3 separate regions of the Homo sapiens genome follow, and all the other regions are linked to region 1. The links are contacts of gene promoters, found by promoter capture Hi-C in blood cells and fetal thymus (Javierre and others, 2016). All regions are on one chromosome and are shown on one strand. Each heading gives the region's core, a stretch centred on a gene start or on the middle of the fragment in contact. The rest is flanking DNA. Distances are from core to core; before and after follow the strand shown.

What was found. Contacts are between HindIII fragments. The CHiCAGO score rates a contact against its expected background, and 5 or more counts as called.
Region 2: a contact is called between a fragment that was not itself captured here and the fragment with the promoter of EAPP in region 1, in 1 of 17 cell types (M0 macrophages). The highest score is 5.0, in M0 macrophages.
Region 3: a contact is called between a fragment that was not itself captured here and the fragment with the promoter of EAPP in region 1, in 1 of 17 cell types (M1 macrophages). The highest score is 6.0, in M1 macrophages.

Annotation. Positions count from the first base shown.
Region 1 is chr14:34,538,320-34,541,047 of GRCh38, reverse strand. It overlaps EAPP (E2F associated phosphoprotein), which reads left to right and starts at 1,347. Exons shown (of 6, transcript NM_018453.4): 1 at 1,347-1,493. The coding sequence starts at 1,420. LOC105370447 (a long non-coding RNA gene) reads right to left here and starts at 1,299. Exons shown (of 2, transcript XR_943739.1): 1 at 1,264-1,299; 2 at 1-862. RefSeq lists a silencer at 1,170-1,269 and enhancers at 1,410-1,569, 1,220-2,144. The HindIII fragment of the contact is 15,759 bases long and covers 1-2,299 here.
Region 2 is chr14:31,129,777-31,132,504 of GRCh38, reverse strand. The region is part of intron 24 of HECTD1 (HECT domain E3 ubiquitin protein ligase 1); the gene reads left to right. Among named protein-coding and RNA genes, the nearest start is that of HECTD1, 77 kb to the left of the region's middle. The HindIII fragment of the contact is 3,591 bases long and covers 1-2,728 here.
Region 3 is chr14:31,396,206-31,398,933 of GRCh38, reverse strand. HEATR5A (HEAT repeat containing 5A) reads left to right here. Exons shown (of 36, transcript NM_015473.4): 4 at 153-261. Among named protein-coding and RNA genes, the nearest start is that of HEATR5A, 23 kb to the left of the region's middle. The HindIII fragment of the contact is 3,802 bases long and covers 1-2,728 here.

The sequences.
Region 1 (2,728 bases), core at 98-2,597:
TTCTTTCCCCACAGACAAACAAGTGTTGTTCTTTACAGCAGACCTCTTTCCCTCTACATACCAATCTATCCACTCGCATAACTACTAAGTGGCTCAATGGCCTATGTCTCATGCTTAATTGGCTGAGCTAGGCGCGGAATCCGGGAAACCACAACAGACTGTACTCTGCTCCTGTATTTCAGGAATAACTGTCACTAACCTGCTTCTGTCCGATTCCACCTTCTATGAAGTACACACAGAGGAGCAGTTCATTCTTTTGTAAAGGGATTGGTGGACTTTGTTCGAGATGCCATTTCAAAAGAAATGAGAAAAAAGAAAAACTAAGACCTGCACTGTAAAGCATAATACAGGAGTAGATTTATTACAGCTACTCCACATTTTAGAGAGTGCCACAGTGTCTCGGTAGGAGGCAGGAACCCGAGTTCCTGGTTCAGAAACAGGGTTAGAAACAGTCTCCCGATGGAGCTCAAGTGGCTGTCATCTGCCTGTTCTCCTCAGGTATCGAGTGGGATCAGTTGAGGGCTGAGCAAAAGTGGGGACTGGGAAGATGACGAGAAAAGATAACTTTTCGTAGATTGTTGAGGCCGCAGTCAGACTGAGGAGTGAACAGTGTGAAGGAGAGGTTGAGAGCCTCATGGTGTGGAAGGCATAAGGGTTAGAGGCGAGGTTGGAGGGATGTGGGTGCTGGTGTCTGAGGACTTATTGGATTTCGGGCTGTGTGTCCCTCAGCGTCTAGATTCCTGCTTCGTAGGTGATGAGACGCTGCATGTAGCATGTTCACCTCAGAGACTGTCACTTATGAGGGTGCCCATCATTATTATTTTTGGTGACAAGGTAGCTGCTATTTTCCTGTAAGCAGAAGCTGCGGAAGAAAATGGTGGGATTGGCCGGGAGCGGTGGCTCACGCCTGTAATCCCAGCATTTTGGAAGGTCGAGGTGGGCGGATCACCTGAGGTCCGGAGTTCGAGACCAGCCTCAACATGGAGAAACCCCCGTCTCTACTAAAAATACAAAATTAGCCGGGCGTGGTGGTGTATGCCTGTAATCCCAGCTACTCGGGAGGCTGCGGTAGGAGAATTGCTTGAACCTGGGAGGCGGAGGTTGCGGTGAGCCGAGATCGCGCCATTGCACTCCAGCCTGGGCAACAAGAGCGAAACTCCGTCTCCAAAAAACAAAACAAAACAAAAATGGTGGGATTAAGACCCGCCCCCGTCCCGTCCCCGCCCCTTTTCGCTCCTGCTCCGCCCCTTCCCCGCCTTCTACCTGCCTCCCTCGGTGCTGTCGGTCTGCGCGGGCGCGCAAGGGGGACTGGGACGTTCAGGCGGAAGTGGCGTCAGGGGCGCTTTAGGGACTGGACTTGCAGTGTAAACAGAGACGCTGCAAATTGCTTGTGGACGGTGTAGGCCGCTGCAGGCCACCATGAACCGGCTTCCGGATGACTACGACCCCTACGCGGTTGAAGAGCCTAGCGACGAGGAGCCGGCTTTGAGCAGGTGGGCTCCCGCCCCACCCTGGCCCCCGAGGATTTGGGTCGAGGCCTGGCTTTGGTCGCCTCCATTCGTTGCGCCTGCCGAGCCTACGCAGACCCTAGCGGCTCGGGAGCCTGTCGTGCCTGTTACTTGTGCGAAGCCAAAGGGCTTTCCTGATGGGGTCGCGCAGTCCCGGGGGGAGGCGGTGCCGATGTCGCCTGTAGGAAGAGGGATATTCCGGAATCACGGGGGACCGCGTGTAAATCTTCAAAAGCAATGAGATCGAAACCTGTCTCTACACCTTAGTAGCAGAGTGACGGAAGGCAAGTCAGTTATCCTCGATTACTCACCTGTAAAATTGAACTATAATAACATAATTGTATAACCTATATAACATAGTATAACACACTATGTTTGTTGTGAGGCTCACAGGACTTAATGTGAAGTGTCCATCTTGAAGACTAAACTGCCATAAACAGAAATAAGGGAATATTGAACAGCCTTTTTTATTTTTATTTTTTGACAGGGACTGTTGTATGCTCGCTCTGAGCTACAGAGATAAATCATAAGGTCCTTGTCTTCCAGAGGCTTATAGTATAATAAGGGTAATAAGATAAAGTATATATTTCTTGGCAGAGCATTGTAGAGAATATTGACCTGAGATAGGCACAGAAGAAGGTTCGTGGGATTTCCAGAAGGGTGGGCTTTATTCTACCAGGGAAACTTGAAGCTGTTTTGCCGAGATATTTCCACACAAATTTAGTTATTTCTTAAGCTGTCAGCAGATCCTATTCTTAAACTTTAAAACATTCATTCTGCCTAAAGAAGCTTTCTGTAAAGCCATGCTTTCATTAACAACTTTGGCTGGGTGTGGTGGCCCATGCCTGTAATCCCAGGACTTTGGGAGTCTGAGGCGAGAGAATCTCTTAAGCCTGGTAGTAAAGGAACAGCCTGGGCAACATAGTGAGACCTCATTTCTTAAAAAAAAAAAAAATCAAAAGAACAATGTTTCCTCATATTGTCATGGGGAGACATTGGATGCATGGGAAATCAGACTGCTGTTAAGATTTCTTTTGTTGGGAGTGAGGATAGATACCAGGATTCCCTGTGAAAAAGAGTTTCAGTTAATGGGTCCTGTCTGTGAAAGGAGGTATGTATATATGTATGTCTCAATTATTTATTTATTTATTTATTTATTTTGAGACAGAGTCTCACTCTGTCAGCCAGGCTGGAGTGCACTGGTGCAATCTTGGCTCACT
Region 2 (2,728 bases), core at 91-2,590, 3.4 Mb after region 1:
ACTTACACCACATATATATATCCACATATATGTGTGTGTATATATATGTATTTTTTTTTTTTTTTTTGAGACAGAGTCTCGCTCTTGTTGCCCAGGCTGGAGTGCAATGGCGCAATATCAGCTCACTGCAACCTCTGCTTCCCAGGTTCAAGCGATTCTACTGTCTCAGCCTCCTGACTAGCTAGGATTATAGGCATGGGCCACCATGCCTGGCTAATTTTGTATTTTTAGTAGAGACGGGGTTTCTCCATGTTGGTCAGGCTGGTCTTGAACTCCCGACCTCAGGTGATCCACCCACCTCGGCCTCCCAAAGAGCTGGGATTACAGGCGTGAGCCACCGCACGCGGCAACTTACACCACATATTTAAAGAGCTAGAATAAATGTGACGGTACTTACGAGAATGACTGACATTTAATTTCATGTTTTATGTGGTAAAGACATTTATTTATTCAAATAAACCCTTTGACTATATTGCTTTTAAGATTCTATTCCTTGAATTATTTTACTGCCAAATGTATTTATGTAGTATCATGCCCTAATTGCAAATCATTGTAATCAAAACAGGTTTACAGCGACCTAAAATTCATAAATACCAGTAATAGTTGAGATATCAACTATTATTGTTATACTGAGTTGAATAGTAGTGCCATTCAACTCAGAAAATTTCAAGTTTTCTTTTTAGGCATCTTGATGATACTTATTAAAAAGTTGTTATTCTATTTCCTGTAATTGTTTTGGCCTTGATGTATGTGACTTGATAAGAAGAGGCTAGTTAGAGATGTGTGAATGCAGTTCTTTTTTCTCAGGATGGAGTCAACTGAAGCAATTGCATAGGGAAATTAGAATCTTTTTTTTTTTCCCAAGATACAATGGCACAACAGTTTTAATACAACCACCAGTCTTCAAAAAATAATTTTAATACTTTGTGCCTGTACTAGCAGCATCTTGCACTGTGACATTCCTATACATACATAAGCATTTTATTGAAGTACAAATGTTAAAAGCAGAGTAACTTAAGCAATTGCCTATACAAAGGTAAATAGACACTGTGGGTTATTTTTCTTCTCGATTCATTTTTGCTGCATAGTAAGTTGCAATTACATGTCAGTATAATAATGTTACTGATCTATAAAATATATTTGAACCGTGAGGTATGGCACCTCCCTATGAGAGAGTGCTAACATGTACATCTGAATATTTTGAGTGTTTTTTGTTTGTTTGTTCGTTTTAGCTGCCACAGATGGGAAAAAAAAAAATCACCTAGCCTAGAAATCTCAGAGTTTAGCGTTCAAGAAAGGCCTATTTTTGCTAATCTGACAAATGTAGAAATTTAGTTTTGCCTAATCAACATGGCCATTCCCATCAAGTTATGCCTTTGAGTCTCTATGTCAGAGAGGGTTCTTAGCTTTCAAATACTTAAACCAACCATTTCTAATGATGGATAGTCATTACTGACTCTATTTTTTTTTTTTTTTGGTTTATCTTTTGGGTGTAGAAGGAGTTGAGAGAGTATGTTTTTTGGGCCAATTAATATAATACAAAAGTTACTTTTATTTGAGATTGGGCTATGTTTTTGAAACTTTTCCTTTTCTCACACATTTCTGTGTAGCAGAAGAGATAGTTAAATGTTGGTTCTTCAGAGATTATTTCAGCATACAGAAAAAAATAGAGGCAATTGAAAAATCTCATCTAAGCTACTTATGTAGATTTGGGGCAGTCACTTTTCCTTTCAAAGAACACATATGCAGATAATCCCCACAGGTAATTCAATATTATTTCCCTCTGAGTGCTATCATAAACATATGAACTTGGTGTAAGTGTGGGTGAGCATCTGGGTGTGTGGATGGGTGTGTATGTGATCTTGGGCCCCTTTTATGTATGGGTAAGAACTTTATAAAGGCTTGTTATACTTCTAAAAAAATGTTTTTTATGTCTTATGTTTTTCCCTGAAATAGTTAGCTTATAACACTAAAATAAGATTGTAAAATTTCTATTAATTTGCTTTTAATAGACAATTTTTTTTTTGCTTTTGGAAGTTAATTACCTTTTTAAAAAAAGAATATCATTTTTCTACTACAAGTAAATATATAGATTGAATATCATTATGCTCGTTAATTCTGTACATGTTATTAGCTTTAGCAGATAGTTCTAATAAAAGAGTTCAGTATGCTCTTTAAATTTTTTTTTAGAATTTTCTGTGTTTATTCAAATTTATTGAACTTAATTATTTAATATAAGAGAACCAAGGAACCACTGAACTTTGAGAACACAACCGAAATGCTAACTTTAGTGTTTTATTTGAACTAGTGACTAAAATTTCTATGGCAATATATGAATATTTTGAGAGGTTAGCCCAAATTGTAAGAAATTAATGGTAAGCTGGCATGTTTTTGTAGAAAAAAAATTTGACTACACATAATTATATTTAGCAGTTTTAAAACTTTTACCTAGATTCTGTTTACTTGCTGAAGTGGCAGTATTTTACCATGTATATCAATCTTTTAAAATTTCTTAAACAGTTCTTCCATTTAAGAAGTAACCAAGCCAGGTGCAGTGGCTCACATCTATAATCCCAGCTACTCCAGAGGCTGAGGTGGGAGGATCGTTTAAGCCCAGGAGTTCAAGATTAGCATGGGCAACGCAAGACCTCATCTCTAAAAATCAAATAATTTTAAAAATGAAATATAACCCAGTAGATTTAAACATGACCCTTACATTGCTTTTAAA
Region 3 (2,728 bases), core at 171-2,670, 3.1 Mb after region 1:
TAAATATGTTTGTGTTTCAAAGGATAATACAAAGAAAGTAAAAAGACAAGAGAATGGGGGATATTTTTCAACAGTTATCCTTACATATCCTAAGATCTTTTTATTCCTATTTTTTCAGCTGTGACTAATTTCTAATTTAAATGTTGTTTCAGTGCTGCTGTGGTATGTTTGGGTTCCTTGTACAAGAAGTTGGGTAGAATACTGGGTAACACCTTTACTGATACAGTGGGGAATATTCTTAAAGCTATGAAGAGTGCAGAGGTAAGTAATTACAAGTTCAGCCAAAGAATGAAAAGACAGCATTTTATTGGTTTATGCTTTCCTGAGCAAATCAAAGAGCTTTACATATGTCAAGCATATGTAGATATGAATATAAATGTACCCATAAATTAATATTTCTAGGTGATGCACTGTATGTACTCTGTATATTGAATCCCAGTTAGAAAAATAGTAATGCAGTAGAATTTCATGTATTCATATAAATCCAAGCGGGCGAAAACTAACGTATTCCACTTACAGTCCCATCCCTACTCTCTCCTCTTACTCCATCTTTTCTATTTGATAGTACTTAACTGGTGCCAGTGCAACTGCTTGTCACCAGGGACTACATAGTTGATAAACATTGTATACCTTATGGATAGATGAGTTACTGTACTAGCATCAGAAGGTAGTAAGGAATATAATCTGAGGGGAAAGAGTGTAGAGGATGTGTGACCAGATCCAGATGACCTTTTAATTGCCAAGGGAGTATATTTTCAACTTTATCCTCATTGAAATATTTGTGTCACTTACTCCTCTGGAACACCCTTTGTTTTTGAGACTGTCTCTTCATTTGACTTTAAGATATTAAGATACTATAATCTCTTGCCAGCTGTGGTTTTACTGGTTTTGAAATGAAAGCATTTATATGTTTGTTTAGCAAAAGGTTTAAATCCGTGGTCCCTAATATGTAAGGACAACTTAGCACCTTTAAATATAAAAACATGGACATGGTAGTTCGCACCTGTGATCTCAGCTACTTGAGAGGAGATGGGAGGATCACTTAAAGCCAGGAGTTTGAGACCACCTGGGCAACACTGGAAGACCCTGTCTCTACAAAAACATAAATTAGTTGGGGTATGGTGGTGAACACCTGTAGTTCTAGCCCCTCGGAAGACTGAGGCAGGAGGATCACTTGAGCCCAGGAGTTCGAGGCTGTCGTGAGCTATGGTCATGCCACTGGACTCCATCCTGGGTGACAGAGCAAGACCCTGTCCCTTTTTTTTTTTTTTTTTTGAGACGGAGTCTAGCTGTGTCACCCAGGCTTGAGTGCAATGGCGCGATCTCAGCTCACTACAATCTCCGCCTCCTGGGCTCCAGCAATTCTCCAGCCTCGGCCTCACAAGTAGCTGGGATTACAGGCGCGTGCCACCACGCCTAGCTAATTTTTTGTATTTTTAGTAGAGACGGGGTTTCACCATGTTCACCAGGCCATTCTTGAACTCCTGACCTCAAATGATCCAGCTGCCTCGGCCTCCCAAAGTGCTAGGATTACAGGCATGAGCCACCATGCCCGGCCCAAGACCGTGTCTCTTAAAAAATATTTATTTAAAAAAAAAAATCTAAAAACATCACACTGGTTACTCTTGTCACTTTATTTACAAAAATAATCTAGAGAACAGCCCTGAAGTAATTTATAGAAATGTTGGAAAGTCACACACACATTTTTAAAAAATGTAACAAGGCAAAACATGGGAAAATTCCAATAAAAAATAGGTTAAATTTTAAGAAGGACGTAGCTGATTCAAGAACTTTAAGAAGTGAAGACTCTAACGTAAAACTGATGAGAAAATTTGCTCATCAGATCACTTCTCAGCAATAGTTTCCTAAAAGATTGAAGAAAATGATTAAGGAGAACAGATTTTTTTTAATACCTGTAAGTCTGGTTTTATTTAAAAGCAGATATCTGTAAGAAATTTTATTTACTAAGATACAGTCATTTTAAACTTTCTTCCTCCTAATTCCACTGGTTAAGTTCTAACACTTTTTAGGCCCCTTGGTTAATAGAGGATTACTCTATAGTTATGAAAATGTTGTAAGTTACTGATAAGTATATTGTTGCTCCCCTATTTTTTAAATTTTTTTAACTAACATCCTTGAGCCATATTCCCTACTTTTGATCTTTGATTTAGTTGATCAGGTATCACAACATTTCAGAGATGTCCACACTCACCAGTGATACACAACATTTGGAACTGGAATAAAAGAAAAGTTCTGAAGTTGCTCGTTAGCATTATTTTATTATGTTCACCTATGACTTTTAAGTGCCTTTAAACAAAGATAAATTAACAATATTACTATGAAATGATTCTTGATGCTGATCTTTGTCTTCCTCCAACTCCAACTTCTCTACCTTCAGTGGCCCAACTTCCTGGGATATAGATATGATTTGAGGCATTTAGTAAAACATTAATAAAATAAGCAGCTACTATTTCTTTTTCTTTTTTTTTAAAGACAGGGTCTGGCTCTGTCACCCAGGCTGGAGTTCAGTGGTGCAGTCTGTACTCACTGCACCCTCTGCCTCCGATTGTACCCTCTGCCTCCCACTGCACCCTCTGCTTGCCAGGCTCAAGCCACCCTCCCACCTCAGCCTCTCAGTAGCTGAGACTAAAGGTGTGCACTACCACGCTCCCACCTCAGTCTCCTGAGTAGCTGGTTCTAGAGATGTGCACTAACACTCCTGACTAAA